7 separate regions of the Homo sapiens genome follow, and regions 1, 2, 3, 5, 6 and 7 are each linked to region 4. The links are contacts of gene promoters, found by promoter capture Hi-C in blood cells and fetal thymus (Javierre and others, 2016). All regions are on one chromosome and are shown on one strand. The core of a region is centred on a gene start or on the middle of the fragment in contact, and the rest is flanking DNA. Distances in the headings are between cores, read along the strand shown. Region 1 overlaps CLIC6 (chloride intracellular channel 6). Region 2 has its middle 4.7 kb from the start of CLIC6. Region 3 holds the start of RCAN1 (regulator of calcineurin 1). Region 4 holds the start of SETD4 (SET domain containing 4). Region 5 overlaps RCAN1 (regulator of calcineurin 1). Region 6 overlaps CLIC6 (chloride intracellular channel 6). Region 7 overlaps RUNX1 (RUNX family transcription factor 1).

Evidence for each region. The method cuts DNA at HindIII sites, captures the fragments that hold promoters and counts their contacts. A CHiCAGO score of 5 or more calls a contact.
Region 1: a contact is called between a fragment that was not itself captured here and the fragment with the promoter of SETD4 in region 4, in 2 of 17 cell types (M0 macrophages and non-activated CD4 T cells). The highest score is 6.4, in M0 macrophages.
Region 2: a fragment that was not itself captured here is called in contact with the fragment with the promoter of SETD4 in region 4 in 1 of 17 cell types (naive CD8 T cells); the score reaches 5.2 in naive CD8 T cells.
Region 3: a contact is called between the fragment with the promoter of RCAN1 here and the fragment with the promoter of SETD4 in region 4, in 2 of 17 cell types (neutrophils and total CD4 T cells). The highest score is 12.8, in neutrophils.
Region 5: a fragment that was not itself captured here is called in contact with the fragment with the promoter of SETD4 in region 4 in 1 of 17 cell types (neutrophils); the score reaches 9.5 in neutrophils.
Region 6: a fragment that was not itself captured here is called in contact with the fragment with the promoter of SETD4 in region 4 in 1 of 17 cell types (fetal thymus); the score reaches 5.5 in fetal thymus.
Region 7: a fragment that was not itself captured here is called in contact with the fragment with the promoter of SETD4 in region 4 in 1 of 17 cell types (monocytes); the score reaches 5.3 in monocytes.

What each region holds. Positions count from the first base shown.
Region 1 is chr21:34,705,660-34,709,822 of GRCh38, reverse strand. CLIC6 (chloride intracellular channel 6) reads right to left here. Exons shown (of 6, transcript NM_053277.3): 2 at 2,434-2,543; 3 at 1,754-1,879; 4 at 1,017-1,123; 5 at 285-466. Among named protein-coding and RNA genes, the nearest start is that of LINC00160, 29 kb to the left of the region's middle. The HindIII fragment of the contact is 1,915 bases long and covers 1,230-3,144 here.
Region 2 is chr21:34,662,389-34,666,233 of GRCh38, reverse strand. No RefSeq gene overlaps it. Among named protein-coding and RNA genes, the nearest start is that of CLIC6, 4.7 kb to the left of the region's middle. The HindIII fragment of the contact is 2,807 bases long and covers 1-2,784 here.
Region 3 is chr21:34,612,814-34,616,736 of GRCh38, reverse strand. RCAN1 (regulator of calcineurin 1) reads left to right here and starts at 1,624. Exons shown (of 4, transcript NM_004414.7): 1 at 1,624-1,977. The coding sequence starts at 1,726. RefSeq lists silencers at 1,390-1,819, 2,010-2,109. The HindIII fragment of the contact is 8,899 bases long and covers 1-3,029 here.
Region 4 is chr21:36,059,146-36,063,019 of GRCh38, reverse strand. SETD4 (SET domain containing 4) reads left to right here and starts at 2,494. Exons shown (of 12, transcript NM_017438.5): 1 at 2,494-2,673. It overlaps SETD4-AS1 (SETD4 antisense RNA 1), which reads right to left and starts at 2,416. Exons shown (of 3, transcript NR_186380.1): 1 at 2,399-2,416. RefSeq lists enhancers at 2,492-2,541, 2,572-2,721. The HindIII fragment of the contact is 7,728 bases long and covers 1-3,874 here.
Region 5 is chr21:34,594,870-34,598,529 of GRCh38, reverse strand. All of the region lies in intron 1 of RCAN1 (regulator of calcineurin 1), which reads left to right. Among named protein-coding and RNA genes, the nearest start is that of RCAN1, 18 kb to the left of the region's middle. The HindIII fragment of the contact is 8,670 bases long and covers 1-3,660 here.
Region 6 is chr21:34,684,580-34,688,584 of GRCh38, reverse strand. All of the region lies in intron 1 of CLIC6 (chloride intracellular channel 6), which reads right to left. Among named protein-coding and RNA genes, the nearest start is that of CLIC6, 18 kb to the right of the region's middle. RefSeq lists a silencer at 3,876-3,935. The HindIII fragment of the contact is 1,452 bases long and covers 1,178-2,629 here.
Region 7 is chr21:34,855,141-34,859,216 of GRCh38, reverse strand. The region is part of intron 6 of RUNX1 (RUNX family transcription factor 1); the gene reads left to right. All of the region lies in intron 1 of RUNX1-AS1 (RUNX1 antisense RNA 1), which reads right to left. Among named protein-coding and RNA genes, the nearest start is that of RUNX1-AS1, 21 kb to the right of the region's middle. The HindIII fragment of the contact is 1,957 bases long and covers 345-2,301 here.

The sequences.
Region 1 (4,163 bases), core at 938-3,437, 1.4 Mb after region 4:
TTCCTCAGGCTGCTTTCACATAACCTGTCTTTAGGCTGTGTGAGTAAGGCTGAGAGAGAAGCAGAAGGTGGGGCCATGTTCCCAGGCACTTTCTGAGAACACCCGAAGCCCATCTTCTGTGTGTGTGAAAGCTGGGGCTTGGCTGCCCCGAACAGAACTAGTGTTTTTAATCCAAGTCTCCACATTTCAGACTGTTTAAATGTCTGGCCCAAACACAAGTAAAAACAAAATAAAACAAAGCCCCGTTCGTGTACTCGGCACACGTGTCGGGAGGGAAGATGAACCTTAATAATATGGAGCTTGGGTAAGAGGTTGCAGTCAGCCAGCGTCAGCTCGTCCCCATCCAGAAACTTCCTTCCAGAAACAGTGACATCCTCGGTGCTGTAGGCATCTATTTCATCAGGCAGAGGGCTATTTAAGTAATTATCCAGCTTCCTCAGGGCCTTCAGCAGGTTCTTTTCATGAACTAAAACAGAAGGGCAAGAAATCACAAAGAGAGGTTTGCAAGTGCATGTCACTTTTCACCAGCTGTGATGGAGTTTGCTTCCCTTCCTCGCTGAGATGTGGCCAGCAAGCAATGGGTGCTGGGAAGGCAGCAGGTGGATGTAGAATATCTGAATAAAGGGCTCACTCCTCCCTGGAAAATCACACTGCTGTCTACACAATATTGCTCCTTCTAGAAGTGATTTATTTATTCAAAAATACTTATGGAAAGCCTGTGGGGAGACGTGGACTGGCAGAAACATCATTGAACATGATTCCCATGGTGTGTCCGGAACACCTGGGTGATGACTATTTTCCCTAAAAATGTTGTTTTCTGAGTTCCCAGCCTCAAAAGAAGCATTCATCTCTTGAAGCCCACGTGCAGATTCAAAGTTGGAGGCACTTTTTCTGTAGCTCCAGACTCACTTCTCTACCCACTGGGAAATAGATGGGAATACCCCAGGAGCGTATGGGCCGCCATGCTAAGACTCAAGTCTGTGTTGAAACAAAACAGGAGGATGGGAGGTACTCACTCTCATTTGCATCCTTCTTCGTGTTTTTTATAAACGCTGAGAATTTGGCAAACACGTCATTTCCTGCGGAATTAGATTCGGGATGTTGGGTCCCCAGCTTGGGATACCTTGAAAAGTTCAAAATTGGAGGATCACAGACAAGTGATGTTTTAGTGAAGATAATACTATACAATGGAGAAAAACAGCTTTCTCTGGGCATAAAAATGAAAAGCTTTCCTTCAACGTTTTCCTGACCCTTTTCCTCTCAAAGGTTGGGAAGTAACAACATCTAGGAGAATGGCACTGGACGGAGAGGTTTGGATTGTTGCTGTTTCCTGGCAGTGGCCAGTTCTGGGACACAGGACCCCACCTGGCCTTGCTGGTCTCAGGTGCTTCCCTAGTAAAACGAAGGGGATGGAGTAGAAATAGCTCCCCCGAGGTCCAAAAATCCATGATACTTCTTCCTAACACATACTCCATAGCTTCCAGCAGGGTGTCTAGGATACAGCCAACCACCCACCCTGGACCCATCTCCTCCCACTTCCTGCCATCAAACTGTGATTGCCAAGCTGCAGGTGCAGCACAATGAAACCCAGGTCCCCGAACTCTAATCTGGTTACACCAGGGTTATGATTAAGGAAGTGAGCACCGTGGGCTGCAGAAAACCACACACACACACACTGCCCAGAGCTTTAGAACTGACTACTAGTGGGGGAAAGTGACAATCAAGTTATGAACACTGGTTTTCTGAGGCCTACCTCGGGGGAGCTAATTTCTCCTCTAAGAACTCCTCGATCTTATTCACATCCGTCTTGACTTCACCATCAAAAGTCATGAAAGGAGGGTTTGTTCCGGGAGCCAGGTTCTGCAGGTCTGCGGGTTTCCTAGGTGGGAGGAAACAGCAGTGTTTATGGGCCACCGTGAGAATCTGGACTCATTTCCAGGGCTTAGCCGCGTCCTCACCAGTTTAAGAGAAGCAACTCTTGAGAACTGCAAAGTAGATGGTGGGTTTATGAAAATGTCTTGCTGGCGATGAAAGTAAAGGCATTCATTAACAAATGATGGGCTTGTTGAGGTGCCCCTTTGTGAATACGGAGCACAAAGGGGCATATCAACAAACAGAGGTGAAAAAGTTAACTCTCCCCAGTGTTATCAGCCAGGGATGGTGCTCAGACAGGCTTGGGAGAGTCACAGCTGACCAGCAACTGGAGAAGCAGGTTCTTCACGGCACCCCCAACTCCTCCTCCTTCCTGACTCCAGCCCAGCCGACCCTGTCATGACTGCTTGGCCCACATGTGGGCTTCAGTTCAGACTCCGACTGAGGATGGACGTGCCCATGCAGCACCGTTGGCCTCAGGTGTGTGTGTGTGTGTGTGTGTGTGTGTGTGTGCAGAGAACTAGGTACAGTTATTTCAGTAAGGCAGACGCCTTGTCTTACCTTTTCAGGTCCACTGTGGTCACATTAAATATAACGCCTTTCAGCCAGAGAATCATAAAGAGACGCTGAGAAAACGGGCAATTTCCGATACTCTCACCATCATAACCAGCCTACAAGTGGAGAAGGAGATTTCTATCTGAGCCAGTCTCACAATTATAAGTGCCAACACCACAACATGCACATGCAAAATCATTGCAGGTTGATAAGAACGGTCAGGATGCTGCGAATATCCTCCTGAGGCCATTTTACCAGCCTCAATGTGGAGTTGGCGGTGGATGTAGGGGTTAGGGGAGAGAACACCACACACGCACGCACATGCACATGTATGCACTGCACTGAGCATTTTCTTTCTTCCTTCCCCACCACCTCACCACTGCCTGCCACACTGGGCCTCTGAGCAGCAGCTCACTGATGGAAGGAGCAGCAATGGGAACTCCCTTTATCACCAATGTGAAAAAGAAAGACACGCCCTTTCCTTCCCTCTATCTCTCGATCCTCTCCAAGGATCAACTATTCTTAGCAGCTTTGGTATAATAGCTAAAACCTGGAAACAACCCAGATACTATCAAGAGTAGAATACTTGTGTCAGTGTAGTATTTCCATGCCTTGAGATACTACACCACAATGGAAAAGAATTAGCTATTATACAAGCAACAGTGTGGGTGCATCTCACACACACAATGTTGAGAGAAAGACACCAGACTCAAAGCTTCCTGCATGATTCAGGGTAGGTAGAGGGCAAACTTGTCTATGATGGTGGAAGTCAACAGCAGATGTCCCTGGAAGATACTATTGTCTCAGAAGGACAAAAGGAAGGCTTCTGGGTGGTGGCAATGTTGTTCTATGTCTTGATCTGCACGGTGGCTACACGGGTGTATGTGAGTGATAAAAGTCTTAAGGTTTGGGTACTTTACTGAATATAAGTGATATGGTTTGTATATTTGTCCCAGCCCCAATCTCATGTTGAATTGTAATCCCCAGTATTGGAGGCAGGGCCTGACGGGAAGTGATTGGGTCGGGGGGTGGATTTCTCATGAATGGTTTAGAACCATCCCCTTGCTGCTGCCCTTTCGATAGTCAGTGAGTTCTTGCAAGATTGACAAGATTGAGCTGTTGAAAAGTACGTGGCACTTCCCTCTCTCTTGCTCCTGCTCTGGCCATGTGACGTGCCTGCTCCCCCTTTGCCCTCCTCCACGACTGTGAGCTTTGTGAGGCTGCCCCAGAAGCTGAGCAGATGCCAGCACCATGCTTCCTACAAAGCCTGCAGCATTTGAGCCAATTCAGCCTCTTTTCTTTATAAATTACCCACTCTCAGGTATTTCTTTATAGCAATGCGAGAACAGCCTAATGCAGTAAGTTTTACCTAAATACAAAAGAAAAGAATGTTAAAATAGTAATTTAAAAAATATACAGAGTTTGATTCAGTGGGTCCTGCTGCATGGGGCCTAGGAATGTGAATTTTTAACATGTTCCTCCAAAGTGATACAATGCCAGTGGTCAGAAACCATGCTGTGAGAAGTTCAGCCTTAGTCCAATCTCGGGCAAGAGATAAGGCTGATGCTACCAGCATTATTGTCAATGTGTAAGACAAAACAATGTGAACCCCCAATTGGATGATCCATTGATAAGAAGACTTGCAGGATGATATCACTTTCCAGGTGATAAATACAGCTCCATAAACACAGAGTTAATAGGTGACCTTACTGCATATGAAGGGGCACCAATAGACC
Region 2 (3,845 bases), core at 132-2,631, 1.4 Mb after region 4:
TGTGCACAGACATGCCCAAACTGAAAACCTTAGCTCTTTTCTTCCAAACCCTACATCCAACCTGCCAGTAAATCCAACTGGCTTCACTTTTTAAAAATATATACCCAAAGCCAGGCATGGTGGTGCACCTGTAGTCCCAGCTACTCGGGAGGCTGAAGCAGGAGAATCACTTGCGCCCAGGAGTTCTAGACCAGCTTGGAAGCAGCATAGTGAGATGCCATCACTAGAAAGTACACAAACACACACACACACACACACACACTCACACACGTAAAATCCAACCTCTTCTCTCTATCTCCATTACCACTGTACCAGTCCAAGTCACCATCACCTCCTGTCACCTAGATTATTGCCACCACCTCCTAACTAGTTCCTGGCCTTCGACAGTCTGCTCTCCACTCCACAGCCAGCTGATCCTCTTTGGAAATCATGAATCAGACCATGCCACTTTTATGCTCAAAATCTTTCAAAGGTTTTCTGTCTCACAGTAAGAAAAAGTCAAGTCTTTATGCATGAAGTATAAGGTCCTATAAAATCAGGCAATCCCAGTCTCTTTCTGGCTTACTAGACTTCTGCAGCCCCTAAAACACCAGCCTGCTTGCCGTCCCTAGAACTTGCTGGGCCTCTGCCTGGGATGCCCCCTATATTCTCATGGCTTACTCCCTTACCTTGCTGCAGTCTCTGATTAATTATTTTCCCCAAGCACTCCATTTTACTTTTATAAAATGGCTAGAGTGCAGTGGTGTGATCTCGGCTCACTGAAGCCTCCAGCTCCCAGGTTCAAGTGATCCTCCTGCCTCAGCCTCCCGAGTATCTGGGACTACAGGCGCATGGCACCACATCCAGCTAATTTTTGTATTTTTTTTAGTAGTGATGGGGTTTCACCATGTTGGCCAGGATGGACTCGATCTCTTGACCTCGTGATCCGCCTGCTTTGGCCTCCCAAAGTACTTGGATTACAGGCATGAGCCACCATGCCCGCCCCAAGCATTCCATTTTAAAACACAACCCCTACTCTCTGGCATCCTTCTCTGCCTTATTTTCCCCCATAGCAGTTATCTTCATCTGACACATAATATATTCTAGTTGTTATCTGTCTGCCCTACCTCACCCCACTAGGATGGTGATTCTGTGAAAGCAGGGGTTTTTGCTTGTCATTGCCTAGGATAGACCAGGCACATAGTAGAGCTCCATAAATATTTCCTGAATGAGTGAATACACACGTGCCTTCAAATACATATGCACCAACCTGAACTAGTTTTGGAAAATACTTTTCTCAGTTAGTTTTATACTTTGGTGGGCAAGCTAATGTCACAAGACACACTATTCACAGAAATTCTTTTTTTTTTTTTTGAGACGGAGTCTCACTCTTTTGCCCAGGCCAGACGGCAGTGGTGCTATCTCGGCTCACTGCAAGCTCCGTCTCCTGGGTTCATGCCATTCTCCTGCCTCAGCCTCCCGAGTAGCTGGGACTACAGGTGCCCTCCACCACGCCCGGCTAATTTTTTGTATTTTTAGTAGAGACAGGGTTTCACCGTGTTAGCCAGGATGGTCTCGATCTCCTGACCTCGTGATCCACCCGCCTCGGCCTCCCAAAGTGCTGGGATTACAGGCATGAGCCACTTACAGAAATTCTTATCTACTGACTTTGCCAAAAGAATACTTTAGCAAATTCTTTTAATTATTAGCAAGGGCTCAGTCAGTTCATATAAAGGAACACAAAGGAAATACCAAATAAATAGACGTGTGAAGGTCGCTATGAAGTCACTTAGAGACGTGCACGTTGTTAACCTGGCCTCCAACACTAGATTAGCTATTTAAATACCAGGGAGGGTTAAACAGAGGTGACAGATTCAGAGGTGGATGACAAGAAATGAAAGCGTTGATATTTAAGTAACTTTTAATAATTATACAGTCCTTCTGCCATATATTATAAGGAATCATGAAGCAGGTAAACTCGGATTACAAGAAAACCTTAAGGGCTTATAAACAATGTAAGGGTTTGTTGCTTTTGTTGCTTTTCCAGAAGGAATGGCCTCATCTCCATAGAAATCTGCTCTTTCTCTAGCAGGTATCTGCTCCTTTCAGAAGAGCCCGTGGGATTATAATGTATCTGTAACATTTAGATCACAGGATACACTTAGAGCTGAGTAAAGTTTCTCCTTGCCTGGAATTCTCCTCAAACAGTTGCACTCACTTACCTACAAGTGGCCCCAAACCCGCTTCTTAATCTGGCTGGCTTTCTTCAGTTACTTGGTAAGGTACATTTCAGTTAAAAGAAGAGTGTCACTGCAGAATAGGTTGTACTAGGAGGCAGGGATTTCAAAGCCTGCTAGTCAGTAGATCCTGAAGCACGTACACATCATCTTGCAGGTCAGTAAGAACATTACATGGAACTGACACACATGACAATCATGGTGAAATGGGTGGTTCTTGGATTAAATGGTCTGATTTAAATCCCTGCCCTATCTCGTAATAACTATATGATCTTGATTCAGTTTTTCATCTGGAACAGTGAGGGTTATAAAAGGAACCTTGTCATTGTCAGTTGTTTCACTGATACATATTTGTACATTATTTATGCAGTACATGTGATATTTTATTACATGCGTAGAATGTGTAATGATCAAGTCAGGGTATTTAAGGTATCCATTACCTAAAGTATTTATCATTTCTATGTGTTGGGACCAGTTCAGGTCCTCTCTCTTTGTTATTTTGAAATAGACAATATATTGTTGTTAACTTAACTATAGTCACCCTACTGTGCTACCACACATTAAAGCTTATTCCTTCTATCTAACTGTATGTTTGTACCCATTAGCCTACTTCTCTTCATCGTCCTACTCACCCACACTCCCTTTGCAGCCTCTGGTATCTATCATTCTACTCTCTACCTCCATGAGACCAACCATTTTAGCTCCCACATAGGAGTGAGAACATACAACATTTTGACCTTAACATAATGACCTTCATAGTGACCTTCAGTTCCATTTGTGTTGCTGCAAATGACATAATTTCATTCTTTTTATAGCCACATAATATTCCATTGTGTGTATATATATATACCACACTTGCCTTATCCATTCCTCTGTTGATGGACACAGGTTGATTCCATATCTTGGCTACTGTAAATAGTGCCACCATAAACATGGGGGTGCAGGCATCCCTTTTTTATACTGATTTCTTTTCCTTTGGATAAATAACCATTTAGTGAGATTGCTGGATCATATAGTAGTTCTATTATTAGTTTTTTGGTAATCTCCATTCTGTTTTCCATAGTGGCTGTACTAATTTACACTCTCACCAACAGTGCCCTTTTCACCACATCTTTATCAGCATCTGATTTTTTTGTCTTTTAGTAATAGCCATTTTAACTGGAGTAAGATGGTATCTCATTGTCATTTTGATATGCATTTTCCTGAGGATTAATGACGTTGAGCATTTTTTCATATACCTGTTGGTCATTTGTATGTCTTCTTTTGAGAAATGTCTATTCATGTCCTTTGCCCACTTTTTTTATTGTATTATTTGGTTTTTTACTGTTGAGTTTTTTGAGTTTCCTGTATATTCTGGATATTAGTCCCTTATCAAATGATAGTTTATATTTTCTCTGATTTGACACAATGTCTTTTCACTCTGTTGATTATTCCCCTTGCTGTACAGAAACGTTTTAGTTTAATATAGCCCATTTGTCTTTGGTTTTGTTGTTTGTGCTTTTGAGTTCTTAGCCAGTTTAAATCCAATGTTTCTTAGCTAATTTTCTGTCTAGATGATCTGTATAATGCTGATACTGGGGTGTTGAAGTCTGCAACTATTACTGTACTGAAGTCTATCTCTGCCTTTAG
Region 3 (3,923 bases), core at 375-2,874, 1.4 Mb after region 4:
ACATGTACCCAAGGTGATCAAGGCACAGCTTGGTTTTATACATGTTAGGGAGACATGAGACATCAATGAATGTATGTAAGCAGTACATTGGTTTGGTCTGGAGAGGCAGGACAACTTGAAGCAAAGGCAGGAAGACTACTGCAAAGGCAGGAGGCAGGAGGGAGCTTCCAGGTCACAGATAGGTGATAGACAAACGGTTACACTCTTTGGGTTTCTGATTAGTCTTTATAAAGGAGGCAAATCTGTCTCGGTGAAATGCATCTGTCTCAGTGAGCAGAGGGGTGACTTTGAATGGAATGGGAGGCTGGTTGGCTCTAAGCAACTTCCAGCTTTAGTTTTCCTTAGTGATTTTGGGGGCCCAAGATTTCCCTTTCACAGTATGACGGTTCCAATTTCTTCACATCCTCATATCATATTCTATTTTATGAGTTATCTCTAGATGGGTATTATTATTCCTCTTGGGTTTAGCTCCCTGAGGACACAAACTGTCCTAAGACTATGATAATAGTAATCATAGAACCGTGCACATGGCAAGTTCTGAATAAATCTCAGCTGTTGGATATACTTTTTGTTATAATTACTAACACTTCCTAACTAGAGAGTAAGCCTACTCTAAGAAAAAATATAACTGTAATTTCACAACCTCCAAAGAACCCAGTGCATAAACAGCTACCATTTATTAAGCACTGACTGAATTCTTAGTAATATGTCTTCATTTTTTTCAGATGAGGAAACTAAGATTCAGCTTATTTGTACAAGTAGTTAAAAAGCAAAGCTGAAATTCAGACCCAAGTTCTCACTGTATCATACTGTCCAAAAAAGAATTCTATTTTTCAGGAAGAGACATGTCTGCTCACTTGAGGTCCTCTTATTTTTCCGCTATTCCCCAAAGGAAAGGGGTGATCTCTTAATTCTTTCGTTATGTCCTATTGTACATAGCATATAATGGTAATTCAGAAAAATTACTTCTAATTACATAAATTTTCACAATGGTATAGTGACTAATACGCTGAAATAGAAAAGTAAGGCATTGTTATCATGGTCTAGTTCAGTCTTTATTGCGACTATATCTGATAATATACGGTAAGCATCTAACCACTTGCCAGGGGCCACAGAGCCACAGGGAGACTATGTCTCGCTTAAATTCCCAAAAGTGGGCCCCTGTGCTTCAAAACGTCCCCGCATGGGAACCACAAAAACGTTGCCTCCCCAGTTATCACCCCAAGGGCCCAAGAGCCGAGGACTCTGCCCGGCGTCCTTCAGCTGGCACCAGCTGTCAGAAAAGCGGAACTGGGGACGAGGACTTTGCCCCTAACCAACATGGCCGCCCTGAGGCTTCGGGCTTCGGGCGGCAGAAGGAAGGTCACGTGAAGAGAATTCCGTTCCTTTATTGGCCCCGTCTCCTGGAAGGGCGGGGTACAATAACCCAACCGGCGCCGGCCTTAAAGGGGCCACCGTTGGATCTGCCGGTGGCCGGCCCTAGGGGCTGGGGGGGCGGTCGCCGCGCCGGGCTTCTGCCCCTCCCGCGCGGAACGGTGACGGGCGGGGCTGGCGCTGGGAGGCCGTGTCGCTGGGAGACTGCTGACAGCCCGCCGCCTGCCGCCGCGCGATTCCGAGGGGGTTAACGGCGGAGCCGCCGGCCGGGCGCGGACCGGAGCGCGTGAGGCTCCGGCGCGCAAGCCCGGAGCAGCCCGCTGGGGCGCACAGGGTCGCGCGGGCGCGGGGATGGAGGACGGCGTGGCCGGTCCCCAGCTCGGGGCCGCGGCGGAGGCGGCGGAGGCGGCCGAGGCGCGAGCGCGGCCCGGGGTGACGCTGCGGCCCTTCGCGCCCCTCTCGGGGGCGGCCGAGGCGGACGAGGGCGGCGGCGACTGGAGCTTCATTGACTGCGAGATGGAGGAGGTGGACCTGCAGGACCTGCCCAGCGCCACCATCGCCTGTCACCTGGACCCGCGCGTGTTCGTGGACGGCCTGTGCCGGGTGAGGACCGCGCCGGGCGGGCCGTCGGGGCGGAGGGCGGACACTTGTTGCCCGAGGAGGCGGCGCGGGTCGCAGCGCCCAGTCCCGGCCGCGCGCGGGGCGGGGAGGCAGCGACGTCCCCCGGGCTGCTCGGCCGCGGACCCGTCAGGGCTGGGGCGTGGGGACGGCGCCCCGAGGGTCCCGGTCCCCTAGCACCCCCGGGGCGCGCGGAGCTCACTGCAGAGTCCCACAGGCTCGCCCCGGCCCCCGTGTGCGCCCAGGCTGGTGCGACTAGGGGGGTGAATTCGCTCCCCAAGGTGGGGCAGCGCCGCCGCCCCCTGCGCTCTCGCCATCGCCCCGCATTTACTCGCTGGAGGAGGGGGTCACCTCATTCCTAGGGAGGAGGAAACAGACATTGAGCGGCGACGTGACTCAGTGTTCATAAATAGGACGACGTCCCTGCATTCCCAATCTGCACTATTGGAAGAAAAGCCAATGTTTGGGTGAGGATCCGTGGTTGCTCATTAGCCAGCGGCTGGCCAGTTTTGGTGGAATTGTGTTGGGGGGAAGGGGACCATCTTTCAGACCTTTAGGATATTTAGTCAAGAACCTTGCCCCCTTGTGTGAAGGTGTGGCTTGCCGCCATCGGGGACACCCAGTACATGGGGAGTCGACTCCTTCCCCCGCCTCCCCCCACCCCCGCAAAATCCACACAATTTAGACACTTTGGAGGGTGAGGGGCAGGTATGAGTAATCAATAATGGTGGTGGGGAGGAAGAATTTATTTCAAATCTGCAGTTATTGTGCAGAATAAAATGTGGACAACGTGGGCGTCACAGAATGAAACCGGTCTTTGAGAGATGCCCCATTAGGAGAGCAGCTGTCAAAAAAAGCAGTGCTTTCAGCGCTTGGCTGTGGGTCCACAAATGCTGTCAATGAACTATAGTTGAAGGCTGCTGCCAATACAACACCACTGTGAAACAGAATGGTGTATGTAAGTGTCATTTATTTATAATTTATATGTTCACTTACTTTCTGAAAGGAATTACAATGGCCGTGTGCTTAGGTAAGCTTCCAGGCATGCTTTCTAGAGCAGCAATTGTCAGGAACTCAGGGTCTTACTGATTGATCTTACTCTAAAACCTTTTCCTCTCCATATAAACTAAGCGCTAGCCAGCATTTCAGACCTTTTCCTTAGGAGTTCTAGGCTGTCTTTCTGCTAGAACAAGGTCAAGTCACGTAAGACGGCACTTACTTGTAGTGTTGGAGACAATTTTTTCCAGTGTTGGATACAATCCTGAAATTGTGTTGTATGAAAGTTTGCCCACTTCGCTAGCTATTCATTTTAACAAATATTTATTGAGACTTCGCTACGGGATAGGTACTGTCCTAGGCTCTGAGGCTGCATCAGTAAATAAAATAGCATTTCTGCCTCCAGGGTTGACATTTTTTGGAAGGGAAACAAGCAATAAAGAAATATCAAATGTATCAGAAAGTAATGATGCTATAGGAAAAAATAAGACTTGGAGGGCAGGAGGAGGGAGTGGAGATCTGGGAGTGGAGGGGAGATTGCTATTTTCCATAAGATGATCAGGGAAGGTCTTACTGATATGGTGATATTTTGAGCAGAGACAATGTAGCATTGGTTCATTCAGGCTTTGCTGTCTATTGAGTGCTTACTGTGTTCCAGCCACTGGTTTAGGCCCAGAGGATAAAGCAGGGAACATTTCAAGCTCCTTGCTTTCATGGAGCTTAGGATCCAGTGGTTGAGGGGGAGATAGACAATAGGAAAAAGGCAAGTGAACAAGATCATTTCGGATAGTGATAAATGCGATGAAGAGACTGAAACAGGGATAGAGAGCAAGGGGAGGGGGCTTGGTCAGAGTGGTCAGGTCCTAACACTGTGGGGGTTTTGTTGAAGAGCTGGTGAATTGGGGCAGTCCTGAGGGAACTAACAAGGGATGTCC
Region 4 (3,874 bases), core at 1,245-3,744:
CCCTGAGGGGTGTTATCTCGGGGCTATCATCTTCCCCACTTCCCAGATGGAACGGGGTTTATCTTGGGGCTACCATGTCTCTGGTCAGGGGGGAATTTAGAATGTTTCTGGTTGAAGATATTATTTGTGATTTATGGTCATGGTGACCTTAGCCATTAGGCTGATGCCCTTTGGATTTAGGCGGTTTTTGTTTTGTTTTGTTTTGTTTTAGCCAGAGTCTTGCTCTGTCGCCCAGGATGGAGTGCAGTAGCGCTACCTCAGCTCACTGCAAGCTCCTCCTCCTGGGTTCATGCCATTCTCCTGCCTCAGCCTCTCAAGTAGCTGGGACTACAGGCGCTTACCACCATGCCCGGGTAATTTTTTGTATTTTTAGTAGAGATGGGGTTTCACCGAATTAGCCAGGATGGTCTCGATCTCCTGACCTCGTGATCTGCCCACCTCGGCCTCCCAAAGTGCTGGGATTACAGGCGTGAGCCACCGCACCTGGCCTAGGCGGTTTTTTATTAAGGTGCACTTTAGAATGAGGGGGTTGTCCAAGATGGTGATGCTCTGTCATTGTGGAACAGGGGGTTAGTTAACATCTGGTGGTGCACAAGCGGTAATTGTTTTAATATTGCTTAGGTGGAGGTGAGTGCTTGTTTAGCTGCTAGAGAAAAAGAAAAAACTTGTAACCATTAGAACAGAATTTATTCTTGAAGTGACTTAACTCTTTCCTGGAATGGCCTTAGGTCTTGTTTATAATTTTTGTATCTTATTGCCACAAAAAGTCTGTTCCATCAGTCTCATGGTCTCTATTTTAACATCAATGCTGGCCAGTTGTATCTAAACTGTAAAAGAGAGAGGGTATAATGAGGCATGTCTGACCTCACATTCCATCAGGGCTGGGAACTAAGTTTCTAAGTTTTTTTCTGGGGCCATCTTGGCCAAAAGGGGTTCCATTCAGTCAGTAGGGGCTTAGGATTTGTTTAGTTTACAGCTGTTAGAAACTATGTTAGTGTTTAAATCTTTTAGTGTTGGGGGGCAGGGGTGAATAAAATCATTTGTGTTTAGAATCTGTAGTTTAAATAGGATTTGTGCTCCGTATGCTGAGCGCCGGTCCACTGGGCCCACTTTTCTTTCTCTATACTTTGCCTCTGTGTCTCTTTTTTTTCTCAGTCTCTCATCCCACCCGATGAGAAACACCCACAGGTGTGGAGCGGCAGGCCACCCCTTCACTATTTACATAGTATTTACATTGTATTAGATGTTATAAGTAATCTAGAGATGATTTAAAGTATATGGGAGGATGTGCATAGGTTATATGCAAATATTACACCATTGTGAAAGTTGCAGAATCAAAATGGAGTCACTTGTGTCAAAACCCTGATAAATGCAGCTGGGGAAGGCCTTGAAGGAAGGGTTCTCATGCACTACGCCTCATAACAAGAATTGTCACAAAAGACCCTAACCTTGCAGAAAGGCCCAATCTTAAACACAGAAAATCCTTCTGCAAGGACATCTGTCCAGCAACTTTGGACTGATGCTACCTTTGTTATTCATTCTTTTAGCCAAAGATAATTGATTTAAAGCAATTCATATAATCTTCATTTTCCTTTTAAAAACATCTCCTTGCCTCAACCTCCCCCAAAACGCACACAGTTTACTATGGCATGCATATTCCCATTGCAATGCTACTCCCAGATAAATCTCATTTTCTTTTAGGGAGCCTCTTTTGTTACTTAGGTTTACACCATTGTATACAAGGGACTTGAGCATTCTAATTCTGGTATCCGCAGGGTCCTGGAACCATTCCCCCACGGACACTAAGGGACAACTGTACTTGTTTTTCATGACAGAAAACATGTTTAGGAGTACTAATTTTTTTTCCCCCATAGAAGATTTCCATAGAAGGGTTTTGGAGAGAGACACCACAGGAACATGCTATCAGCATGATTTCTTCCTGATGTTATCCTTGACCACCCGGTAAGGTACTGTTTGCCAGGTTTCTCCACTGTAGTCCCCAACACCATTCCAGGCTGTACTCTTTGGAATCAAGTTACTAGGCATAGCCCATAATCAAAGTGGGGGTGGGTGGGGCAGAAATCGAGCTCCCGCTATTGGAAGAAGGGGTATTTAGATATATTATTTAGAATTTTCCTGTGAGGCGGGTCCTGGGGCCAGAATGAAACGGTGGAATGGGGGCGGGGATTGGCGAGCAAAGTGACTCGACCCGGCAAACCCAGCCTGGCAGGAAAGCCCGAGGTCTGGGCGAACAGGGCCGCGCGCCCTAGGTGGTTTAACTTCGTAAGGAAAGACTCCGCAGGCCGGCTTTTCAGTGCGCAGCTTGCTCGCCTGCGGGTTACTGGGTTTTCTGACCCCTGACTCGACGTAGGGGTTATGGGGCTGTGGGTGTGCCGACCTCGTCCCCGACTGTACTGGGCGTTGGCGGCGAGTCCGCGAACACTGCGCATGCGCGAGCCGGAAGCTGCCGCCCGCGGCGGAAGGGGCGGACCCGGGAGACTGAGGACTTGGATTGCTTAAGGACACCAGGCAGGCGCGACAGCCTTCAGCCTCTCCCTCTGCAGTTTTGGCCGGTTCCTTTAACTTGCCTTCATCTGGGGCTGTTTGGTATTTCCACGTGCCTTGGGCCCGCCCACTGCAGCCTCCATCTTGGAAGCGGCCGCCGGCGCCTAGGTGAGCTAGTAGGACTTCCGGGTCGGGCCTCCAGTTGCCCGGGTAACGGGAGCAGAGTCGGCGGGGTGCGTTCCTTAGTCTTTCATTCATCAGCGTAAAAAGAACTGAGTTTAGGTCGCAGGTCCCCTCCAGGGCAGGCATTATCGTGTGCGCTGCAGTAACCTCTCATCTTGTGGAGTCCTACACTTAGCGCATGTTGCTCCGGCGCGCTGCGTAAAGCTGAGGAGCCTGAGGCCCGAGGTCCGATGCTCGCCTGGCTGGCCTATGGCTGCGGGAGCGGTGTGTGTCGGACCGTAGGACGGCCTCACGGCTAGAGTTTGAGGACTATGGGGGCGGGGACGGTGCCTGTGTCTGTGGCGGTCACCGGGCTTCACGTGGTCCTCAGCAGGGTGATGGTGGACAGCTCGCGCGAGGGCCCGGGAGTCTTGGGGACACTTCCCGGCGCGGTCTGTGGACTGAGCGCTGGGACCCGCACCGAACCAGCCGCCGTTCGCCTCTGGAGCTGGACATGCCGACTTTCGTTAGGTCAAATAATGAACCTTATACTGCGGAAGTGCGGTATTAATATTGCCTGGAGTTCTTGTCTCTTGCTCATTTCTGCCCTCGTATGTTTTAGAAGTAGATTTATTTTTTATTTTTATTTTTTTAATTTATTTTTTGTGACAGAGTCTCGCTCTGTCGCCCAGGTTGGAGTGCAGTGGCGTGATCTCGTCTAGCTGCAGCTTCCGCCTCCTGAGATCAAGCGATTCTCCTGCCTCAGCCTCCCCAGTAGCTGGTATTACAGGTGCCTGCCACCACGCCCGGCTGATTTTTGTATTTTTAGTAGAGACGGGGTTTCACCATGTTGGCCAGGCTGGTCTTGAACTCCTGACCTCAGCCCGCCTCGGGCTCCCAAAGTGCTGGTTTTACAGGCGTGAGCCACTGTACCCAGCCATTATTTTATTTTTATTTATGTATTTATTTTTTTATTTTTTTGAGACGGAGCCTCGCTCTGTCGCCCAGGCTGGAGTGCAGTAGCGCGATCTCGGCTCACTGCAACCTCCGCCTCCCAGGTTCAAGCGATTCTCCTGCCTCAGCCTCCCAAGTAGCTGGGATTACAGGCGTGTGCCACCACGCCTAGCTATTTTTTGTATTTTTAGTAGATTAAGCTGTAGTCACTAGGTCTGCAAGATAAAACTGTTTTAGAGGGACTGATATAATG
Region 5 (3,660 bases), core at 551-3,050, 1.5 Mb after region 4:
TGAGGAGTGAGTTAGATTTCTGGTTTTCTCGTTTGCATGTTACCTGTGGGATGTTCCAATGTTGTTTGCTAAGCAGTGCTCTTTCTTTGAAGATTTGAAATACCACCTAAATGATCAAATATGCTCTTCTATCAGGATTCTTCTCTTGATCTTTTTGTTCATTTCTAAGCCAGTTTCATACTACTGTTTTCATGACTGTGATCTTACATTTTAGCGTGATTTAACAATTAATACAGTGAATTGTCCTATTCTTTTTTTCCAGTATTTGTTTTCCTGGCTAGTATCATTTGCTGCTTCTTCTTTGGGAACTCTAGAAGTATACTGTTACTTTCAAACTGTCCTCTACTCCCTTACAAGAATGAAAACGAAAATGGAACATCCAAACCTGTTAATATTTTGAGTGAGATTGCTTTGGGTTTATAGTTACTTAGGGAGAGTTGACGTCTTTACATCCTAGGTTCCTGTGGTGTTATTCTACTTATGTAAGCCATCTTTTCTCTACTCAGTACAGGGTGGAAGTTTTCTTTATATAGACCCTATCTATTTCTTTAATTTGTATTTATGTTTTAGATTCTTCAATATGAACATTTTTATGTAAATTTAAGAAATTATTTAAAAATGGGATTTTTAAATTACACTTATTTTTACCTCTATATAGAGAAGATTATTGTTTCTGTGTATTAATTTTGTAACCAACCACCTGTGCTAAAGCCTTTGACTATTTCTAATAGTTGATTCTTTTGCATTTTCTAGGTATAAAATCGTATCACCTGCAAATAATGATGATTTTTCCATCTTGTTTATAATACTTCAAATTGTATTTCAACATTATAGAGGCAGCAGATGGGTATTCTCATCTTATGGAAACACGCTAGTCTTTCACCACTGACCATAGCTTGGGTGTGGCAATATGGTATTTTATCTCACCTTCAGGTATCTTGATGACTTTCCCTGTTACAGACCTAGTTACCCCAACAGACACATCTAGCTTTCTTTCATTACTTTTACATAGGCTCCAAGCTGACACACAATTCTTCTTTAAAGAAGCAGCTTCCCGAACGTTCTGTGAGCCACATCTCCATCTGCACACTCTCGATGCTGCCCTGTGGAGGACTCCCTAGGGTGGTGGGAGTGTCCTGTATCCGCACTGTCCACTGCAGTAACCACTGGCCACTTGTGGCCACTGAGTGCTTGAAATGTGGTGGACATGACTGAGGAACTGAACTTTTAATTTTTTTCATTTTAATTAATTTTCATTTAAATTGTCATGTTATTGAGCACTTAAAATGTAGCTAGTACTACCGAGGAGTGTTTACTTTTGCTAATTTTCATTGACATAGCCCCATGTGGCTGGTAGCTGCAGAACTGGGCTGCACGGGTTCCTCGCTCATTCATGGAAGGGTAAGATATGAATGCTAGAAAGGCCCTGGTGGCCACTCATTGTGCCCAGAGATGCTGAGATTGGGCCCACATCACACAGCAAGTTCATGACGAAACTGAGACTGGGAGCCCAGGATTCTTACTCTCTGTCTCAAGCTGGTGTCACTGTCCAACCCCTTCTTTACTCCTCCCCTCCCATTTCCCTTCTGTAAGTTATCACCGAAGTCCCAGTGTGTGCAGACCAACGCACAGCACAGTGAGCAGGCCCGAGCCTCGCAGACACCTTCCCTAGTGTGGGTCCAGCCAAGGGCTGTGCAGTTGTTGAGTTTTCAGCCGAGCTCCTTCACTCCACAGTGCAAAGGTTCTCGCAAGATAAAGGCAGGGAGGCAAAGTCCTCGGCCCTTTGTCGAGGTGGAAAGCACCCTGAGGTACTGTGTTGGTGTTCCAACATCATCAGGAAATGCCCATCCCGGTTCGAATGTATTTTCCAGTGCTTCTAAAAGAAGACTTTCTGCATCTTCTGCATGGCAGCGGGGGTTGCTCCTGTCCCTGAGACGGCTCTAAACCTTACGAGAACCCAGCCTGCCGTGGTCAGGGAGTGGAGAGAATATAGAAAGCAGAGCCTTCGAGAAGGCCCTCAGCTGAGGCTCCAGTGGGCAAGGAGGCTTTCTCGGTCATGCAGGAGCCACAGCCCTGCTTGCACTTCGAGTTTTTTCTACTTTAGCCAACTCTTTCTCTCTTTCCCCAGTGAGGGGGTTCCCTGCATCAGTCCCTGGGCCCCTGTGGGTCTCCTCAGCCTTCCCTCCCAGTCGTTCATTCAAAAGAAGCAGGAGGGAACCACGCTACAGAGACTCTCGGCTTTTTCTGGAGGGCAGGAAGGCCTCCGCTTATACTGGAGGTCACCTGTTGGAGCTTAGAGGTTAAGAAGGCCGGGCACTTGAGCTTCTTCCTGGCACTGCTGCTCCCTGGTAGCATGGACATGGGTGCTTCAGTTTGCCCACTTGTAGGATGGGGCTCATAATAGCCACCTCACAGGGCTCCGGGGATGGGGACGTGAGTCCACAGACAGAAAGTGCCGAGAGTCCACTCTCCACAGATGTCAGCACTGATCCACACTAAGATGTCTTCTCTACCTGCTTCAAGGGCAGGTGACCTCCAGGAAGGGCCCCCTCTGCTCCTCGGCCAGAATCCTTGAGGCAGGCTTATCTGGGGAGCTTGGCCTGCATCTGCGTAGATGGACTGTGTGGGGGACCCCCAGACTCCCCTTTTCACACGTATGTCCCACCCCTGCCGGGGGGTGGTCAGCTTGTCTGACACCACAGGTCCCCAGCTCCTTGAGGCAGCCTGTCCGGCCTGCCCAGTGGCCCCCATCAGAGCCATCCAGGCAGCGTGTGAGTGGGTGTTGGGAGCAGTGCCCTTCCAGTGGCCGGCGAAGGCAGTGTGCATGCCTGAATCTGCTGCCAGTTGAGAAGTCAGCTCCTCAGGTGGGACAAGGACCCTGGCCTTCCTGGGAACCTGAGCAGATTGCGCAGTTTCCTTTTCTCAGCACGGCTCCTGCACTGGCTTACGTAACAGCAACAACCTGCAGAGCCTGGGCTCCGGGGCTCATTCCCAGACAGTGAAGTCTATGATGAATAGATGGGTCTGTACACTCTTAGCAGAGAGCCAGTAATTTGCTCAAAGGTCAAACTTAGCTTGATTCAGAACACAAAATTACTAGGATTCTATTCTTTCTGCGGGTGTTGCTTCTGTATTTTTCATGGTCAAGGAAAAGCTGTGAAGCACTTTCTTAGGGCTTAAGAGCTAAGGGATTTTTCCTCCTTTTTTGATGACCCTCTTTTCCAGCATCTCAGCACACCCCCAGATGGGAAGAGGCTATGATGAATTTCTCCCACCATTTATGCCACACCCACTCTGTGCCAGTTACTAGAGCAAGTGGTTTCCAGGTGTGTGTGTAAGGAAATGCTCTTAGTGCATTTGTTCTGTGTCAGGCACTGTTTTCCATAGTGTTTGTCCAGTGCCAGGTGCTGCTGTAAGTATGGCACTGCCTAGAAGTGTGAATGCATTTCATCCTCACATAAACCCTGTGAAGCAGATACTATGACTGTCCCCATTTTATGGATGGAGTCACTGAGGCATCTGGAGGTGAAGTAACTTGCCCATGTTGCACAGCTAAGTTGGAGGAGGGGGCAAGGTTTGAACCCAGGCCATCTTATTCCAGAGTTAGCATTCTTAACCACTACCCATGCTGCCTGTCCACCCTGGTCCCCCATTTCGTTT
Region 6 (4,005 bases), core at 654-3,153, 1.4 Mb after region 4:
CGCAAGATGGAGCTACCTGAGGTGGAGCAGGCGTCAAGCCATCGTACAATGAAAGGGACAAGGGCAGAGCAGATGGGCCATACAGGGCGTCTATGCAGACTATCTGTAAGGCGTCTCTGCTTCTTAGCCTCTCTGTAAGGCCAGGGGAACGCCAGCCGCAGAGGAGACCACCCGGGTGAACCGTCGTTCTCCGTCTTTTGTCTTCCCTCGCCTGCGCTCTAGTGGGGAGAAAAAATAGACAGCGAGGACAGCAACAGCCAGCAAAACCCAGCAGCAGAAATAAGGCTCCGAGCCGAATAAGAGTCAAACCAATGGTGGGGGGCGGCCACACTGATGAGAATTGAGGGGAAAGACTATTGTGTCCCCTCGTTTTCACATCTTTGCTAGTATTGTCCATTGTTATTATACCAGCTCAAACTATGACACAAATAGTAGGCATCACACTTCTTGTAAGTCTATAAAGGAAACATGTATCATCATTGCAGCAAGGCCTATTTTAGAAAAGAAATTTTTTTTTGTAAATAAATAAAAGTCCACACTTTCTAGACTGACTTTGTTTGCATGCTCAACCAATACTTTACACTGCATACCCCCAGTGGAGCGGACAGCTCCATCCCAATGCTCGTTGTCTGTAATTATCAGTAAAATTTATTGCCAGATTCCTCATTCCAGGCCATAAAAGGAGCTAGGCTTTCCCTTAAAACAGACTTCTCACTCTTCATTAAAACTTAGAAATTAACTTTATTCACTCCTACATTTAGATGCTAAGAAATATATTTTAGATCTTAACACTTTCAAACATAGGTGTAAACATTTAAAAAAAACTACTAATCCTAAACATATTCCTAAGTATGTATAGTATTTTTTCTTTTCAGCTGTTGTAACAATTAATTTATTATTCAATGGATTAAGTGGGTGACTACCCTCGACTCACATTGATTAATTACTGAACCACATTGCTCCTAGCTTTCAATTCTAGCAAAAGGCTTAATTATGTTAGTGTTCATTGTAACAGCAGGTGGAATCAAGGCATAAGAAGTCCTTGAGCAAACAAACTGGTATTTGCCATCTATTCTTATATATGAATTATGCTTTAAAAACTCCGGGGCTATTTTTAATCCATATTTAATAATATGGCCTGATACCAACTGAAGCTTTTACATGGAGATGAAAAGCTTATTTCCTTGTGAAATTCTCACAAGGAATTATTGCAACAAAGGAACATCTTGTTCTAGAAAGCCTGCTTAATATTGCAGCCTGTTTTTATATATCCCGGTGGTTTAGGTTCTTGAATGACAGAGTAGTCCAATCCCTACAGTGACTCAAAAGGGAAAAAATGCAGGCACCAAATGGAAGAACTGGCTGCATGGAGCCTCCTTCCTTTCCTCTGATTGCCCCCTCCCCTTTAGAATTGCTTTCAACTGTTACTCCACACCTCCCATCTGGCCCTGTCTTTTCACCCACTCAGATTTCACTAGCTTAGAGGAGACATCAGTCATGGCATATCCCAGTCACCAATTGCCACGTAACAAATTACCCACAATTTATCAGCCTAGAGTACCTGGTTTATAGTATCTCATGATTTTGTGAGTGAAGGATTTGAGCGAGGTTTGCCTGGGCGATCCTTCTGTTCCGTGTGGCACTGACGAAGGTTACTCAGCAGTGTTCAGCTGGCAGATGGGCTGCTCTGAGGGGCCAAGACAGTTTCATACACATGCCCAGTGTCTTGTGGATGGTCTGGTCTGAGGGGGCCAAGACAGCTTCACACATGTGCCCAGTGTCTTGCGGATGGGCTGGTCTGAGGGGGCCAAGACAGCTTCACACACATGCCCATCATCTTGCATAGATGGCTGGAAGGCTGGGCTCAGCTAGGATTGTCAAATGGAGCACCCACAGGTAGCCCCTCCAGCATGGTGACCTCAGGATGGTCAGTGAATAAGGCAGAAGCCACACAGTCTTGCAGGACAAAAATCACCCAGCATCACGTCCACTATATTCTGCTGGTTACGAAGTAGTCACTAAGGTCAGGCCAGATTCAGAGGGAGGAGAATCAAACCTCACTTCTTAATAGGAGTATTAAAGAAATGGCAGCCATCTTTAATCCACCACACTATATGATTCCAGGCTGTGCCAAAATGCTCAAAGCATATGTTTTTGGTTTTGGGTTTTTGTTTTGTTTTGTTTGACACAGAGTCTCACTCTGTCACCCAGGCTGGAGCGCAGTGGCGTGATCTCAGCTCACAGCAACCTCTGCCTCTTGAGTTCAAGTGATTCTTCTGCCTCAGCCACCCAAGTAGCTGAGACTACAGGCGAGTGCCACCATGCCCTGCTAACTTTGTATTTTTAGTAGAGACAGGGTTTCACCATGTTAGCCAGGCTGGTCTTGAACTCCTGACCTCGTGATCTGCCCACCTCAGCCTCCCAAAGTGCTGGGATTACAGGTGTGAGCCACCGTGCCCGGCCAAAGCATATGTTCTTAATCATATTAATAAATGCTTTGAGCATTTTAGTTATTTACTAAGTTGAACTGGCTTAACCCATTTATGCCTGAGGTTGCAAATTTTTTGTGTGAAAAAGCAGACCTTGGTGATGACATTGAGCAGTAGGATATAAATAACTTCCACAAGCTTAGCGGTCCAATAATGGAATACTAGGCATAAATGGGTTAAGAAAACCTTAGTAGTGTCTAAAAGCAATGGAGTTGTTGTTTTGTACTCAGCCATGGGTGGAGCTACATATGTGCAGGACTTCCCTTAGCCAGAGCCTCAATACCTGGAGAGTGACAGAACATTCTTGCTTTATTGCTGTTATTTATGATTCAAAGCATTATAATATATTAGTAAAAAGGGCAGCTAACAAAAAAATGTCCCCCTCCATGTCTGATGTGTTAATAGCTCTGTGTTTCTTTAAGCACTGGATTCTCTGTTTGGAGAGTTACATGACACAGAGAAGCCGCCGAGTGCAACCTAAAACTTCATCCAGTTTGATCATTTATGGGAAGAGAGTTGAAGACATCCAACCCGGAGTTAAAACAAAGAGAACAAAGCTGGGGGAGAGAGTTAAGTCTTTCCAAGGTTCTTTGAACTCACCTCCAAGGCTCTCACACCAAAGGCACCAAAAAAGTGTTGATTTTTCTTATTTAGGGAGAAAGAGTATCACTGGATCTCCAGACCAATAACACCTTTAGTTTGTGCGGCCTTCAAAGCAGATGATGGCTGTGATGTGCCGACGTCTTGGACAGGCCATATGGCCTTCACCCTAAGGACCCCATCAGAATATCACTGTGTGTTCCAGCCAGGGAATAAAACAGTGTCCTCTGTTCATCTCTGCTTTGATTCATCATCCCCATGTCCCCAGGTGGCTAGAGGAGGACCAGGGTCACCGCTTGGGGGATTGCTGGAGTGCATATCAGCTTCTTCCTACTGGACTGCAGCATCCTACACACCACCCCCCACCCTGCCACCCCACCAAAGCTAGGAAAATAAAAGCATAAAGCCTTGAGAACAATGGGTCCAGGCTTTCTTCTCTCTCAGTAGCCAGGTACCCTCTCCAGTGGAGAGTCTCCCTAGCTGGAAGGCAAAATCTAGGTTTATGGAAAAGGACCCAACTGCCTGGCTTCTCCAGGACAGTTTTGAACTCTCACACCTGGAAACCAAAAGGGTGCCCTGAAACTGACAGCCACTTCATCAGCACTGTGTTGCCTCTCCTTTGTAAAAATAAGGGCTGCTCCTTAAAGAAATAACTGCAGAAAGGGGACATGGAATGACCTAGGTCACATTTCCAGGTCCTCCTTGCTTGTGTACTATAATTACAGTGATTTATTTTCCTCTCCCTCATTTTGGCCTTCACTTACACTCCTCACTGTAGTCTCCTACCGTAGAAAGAGGAAGAAGGAAATAATCTTTCATGTGCCATAGAGCTTTAATAGTTGTAAAGTTACTGTGCTCAAAGTCAAGGTCTGTAAACACAATCTGGCTGCTGAGACATCACTGGCTTAGGTGAAAA
Region 7 (4,076 bases), core at 74-2,573, 1.2 Mb after region 4:
CAGGGCAGCATGAAACTAAGGACTGCTTCCTCAATATACAGTAAAGTTCAACAGGATCAGAAACAAATAGTAAATGGAAGATTGGCCAGGCACAGAGGCAGCCCAAAGAGGTCTGAGGGTCAGAGTGGACCACAAGGGAGTAATTACCGTCTATGCTGGCCTTTTATTAATTCATGAGGGCCAGAGATGAAAACTATGAAAATGACCCTTTTCTTTCTATGGCACAGATCAAAATCTTATTACAGGCATTTTTAAGATAGAGAGTGGGAGGGTAGAAGAATGTCTGGGGAAAACCAGTAAATATAGAAAGATAGTACCAAAAAATAACTCCTGTGAGGGAAGCTTTTAAAAAAATGAGTGAGGTTGTTTAGTCTGCAGAAAAGATGTCTTCACAGTGACTTAATGACTATCTTTGAGTAAACACCAGAGTAACGCTCTTTTCCAGAACCACACCCTTCCCCAGGATCTGAGGCTGGGTTACAGTTCCAGGTCTGTGGAACTGCCCAGCACCCCCGCCCAGCATCCAGATGTCTCCAAACCGTATCAGGTCCCTGGTGGAAAATTAATATACTCTCTTCTTGGAGTGAGGGATATTGAAAAACAGGGCTTCCTACTGTCCCCAAAAGCCAAGATGCAGGGAGGTCAGGTTGTAAAATGAAGTGGTTAAGAATTTGGGCTTTATGGGCAAGCCAGTGGAATTCTTAAGCCTTCAGTGAGCTACAGAGCCTTGCTGAACCTCACTTTCCTCTTCTGTAAAATGGGGATAATAATGAGAGCTTCTTTATAAGATCAAGCCAAATGATGCTGTGTGCCTGATGCAGAGAATGAAGGCAGGAAATGTTAGTGATCCCCAGTAGGGCATCCCTGCTTTCATCCCTGGCTACTGCTCCAGTCCCCTCTAGATGACCTTCCCTGCATGGTGGTTTCTAGGTGGGGTTTTAAGGTAGTTCTCTGCAGGCTATCCTGTGATCACGGCAGCTTTTATGGCAGCCTTCCCTGTGGTCCTGGCCACAACCTCATGGCATCTGGGTCACCTTCTGGAACCATTCCCCAAGCTGCATCAACTTTCCCAAAGTCCTTGAGTGGATGGAGCTCTGCAAATAATCACCATGCCCACCAGGGGCAGGCCACCAGGATATGGTGTTCCTCGTCTGCTTTTTCCCTTCCTTCCATTTGCTGTGCTCGGTGACTCCCTCCAGATCTGACTGCATTTTTCCCCAGAGGGCCCTCTCAGCTTTTTCTGATCGAGACTTTCTGGCCATGCCTAGACTTGGGAGACTGTGGGACTTGATAACAGACCCTGATTCTTCTTTATGAGTGAAAAGCAGGCCATAGACACAGACAGGACCACACAGGTCTAAGGAATGACTGTGAGCTCTTCTTAGGTTTCCAGAGTAGGAATGTCAACCTGGACATTCCTACGTTAATGTAACCCTGCATTAAACAGAACATAAACACCAAAGCAAGTTTGTTCTCCACAGAGGACCAAAGAGGAAGCAGGCTTGAATTATGGCAAGGGGCCTGGCTGGGAGGGAGGCAGTTGTTAGGTATAAGAAAATCGACTTTGAGGGTGACTAAACTTAGAGAAATGCTCCTTCAGGAGGCTGTAGAACCACTGTATTTAGAACTAGAAGCAACAGCCGTCTCTGGGACAGTTGAAATGCCGACCAGCCTGAAGAAGCCGAAGCCAGGTGACCCTGGGTATACCCTCTACTTCTCTTATTTCCTCATGCATAAAGAAGGCTGGGTTTTGCCTCACTGCCAGCATTTCCTGTAACATTCAAAGAAATAACAAAGTTATTGAGCTTCAGAAAACAAATGGTGGCGACTCTGACTTTTAAGAATTGGCAGTCAGAGGGGAAAAAAGATGTCTATGCGATTGTAACGGTCTGGCTGTATATACAGTTTACTCTGCCCCTGCTGTTTTACAACTTAAGAAAACAGTTGTTATATGGAGAAGCACCCTCTGAGCAGACAGAAGGGATTTGCGCCAAAGAAGCATCCATTTTTACACAGTCTTCCCTGCCAAATGGAATTTGGGGCCTGGGGAAAAACTAAATGCGTGGAATAAGTATAAGTATGATATATAGAGGTGCAATAGCCCCAGGTAGAAAGTCTCACATTTTACAAGGGACTTCTAGAAAAAAGCCAAGTGCATGCAGACTCCCAGGTTGACTTGGGTAATGCTGACTTTTCTATTTGCCCTGTGAAGCAAGAGGGGCCATCACTGCTAATTTTAGTATGCTGGTTTCTTATGGTTTGAACGTCTTCATTCAGGGTGGGAACTTTCTATAGTAAGCTTTGCTCACAGTTGCTTTCCAGTGTAACATAAAGAGAGGACACTGCATGTAAATCAGGATGCCCAGATGTTGCCAGATCTCTGGATGAATAAGACCTCCCGAGTCCCCTCCATGATTATGGTGCAATGAATTCTGGGAAATCCTGGCAAAATGGCCCTGGCATTGCCAAGGTCAAATTGAATCATTTTGGAAAATTCTCTAGTTTCATAAAATCAAAGACAATGAGAGCTAGGAGGGGCCTGAGAAGAGCCTTTAGGATCATCACCCCATAGGTAAGGGAAAATAGCCCCAGAAAAATGAAACGGTTTGCCTAGCTTTAAAAGAGATAGTTGATGATGAAGCGTTAACAGAATGAGGAGTTCCTGATGTCTACTTCTGTGCTGTCCTTCATTTATCTACCTGTCCATTCATCTGTTCATCTCTCTATCCATACCATACTGTCTGTACATCATCTATTTCTTTCTTATAGACTCTTTGACCTGGCCTCGGTATCCTCACATTTAAAATGAGGAGTTGGCTTATATGATTGGCTGGCATATTTGGCTCATCTCGAAGACTGTCTATTATAGAAGGGCAAATGGTAGTGCCTCATTGCAGGTGTGGAGCCTTTGACTTGAGGTATGCGTGCAAGCTTAACTAAATAAAGCAGTTATCTGGCATTTGGAGGGACAAACTGCCATTCAACCTGCCATTCCGCTGACTAAGTTAAGGACTGAGAATGAGAAGCTGTGCCACAGCTCGTCTGTTTTTCATGCCGACGGGTAAACTTGATGCATCCCTCCCCTCTTCCAGGGTTTTCAGTGGTGAAGCTGTAGCCAAAAGTATACGCCAAAGGGAATTTAAAGTGTTTTTCGTTTCAGATGGTTTCTTGCTCTTTTACAGTAATGGACCTGCCCCTTAGAAAATCAAAACTTGTTTTTCTCATATTCCATAGGATTTTAAGAAATATCTTAGAGTAATATAGAAATTATTAATTGTTGAAAAATTAACTTTATCATGGAGCAAGAGCACCATCAAAAGGTATCCTCTGCCTGGAATGGGTTCTTACCAGCACCAAGGTGGGCTCTGTTTTCGGTTAGCACGTAGAGCACTTAGTAGCTTGTTGATATACTGAGAGTGTCTCCTCCTTAAGCACAAAAGATAGAGCGAAAGGATTTTTCAAGAAAAGGATATTTGAGAGTTTTTTGTTTGTTTGTTTGTTTGTTTTTGAGACAGAGTCTCACTCTGTTGCCCAGGCTGGGGTGCAGTGGCACAATCTCGGCTCACTGCAACCTCTGCCCCACTCCCAGGTTCAAGCGATTCTCCCGCCTCAGCCTCTGGAGGAGCTGGGACTACAGATGCCCACAACCACTCCCAGCTAATTTTTGTATTTTTAGTAGAGACGGGGTTTCACCATGTTGGCCAGCCTGGTCTCGAACTCCTGACCTCAAGTGATCTGCCCACCTTGGCTTCCCAAAGTGCTGGGATTGCAGGCATGAGCTACTACGAATGGCTGAGAGTTGTTTTTTTAATGTATGTTTTATATTTCTAGGATCTAATGAAAAACTCCAGCTCTCAGCTCACAAATCTGTAATTTAGGTGTCTCTATGCTAATATTGAGATCCCAAAGCATCTTCTCTACAGAGATTTCATTAAATAATTTCAATGCAGGAATTGGTTCAATGCCATGGAGGAAGATATTTTGCCAAGGAGAGGTTGAGGAGAGTGAGCAGTGGGGACCCTAACTGACCCGTCTTGGGGGGCTGGTCCTGGTGGTATGGATTGGGCAGCCTTTAC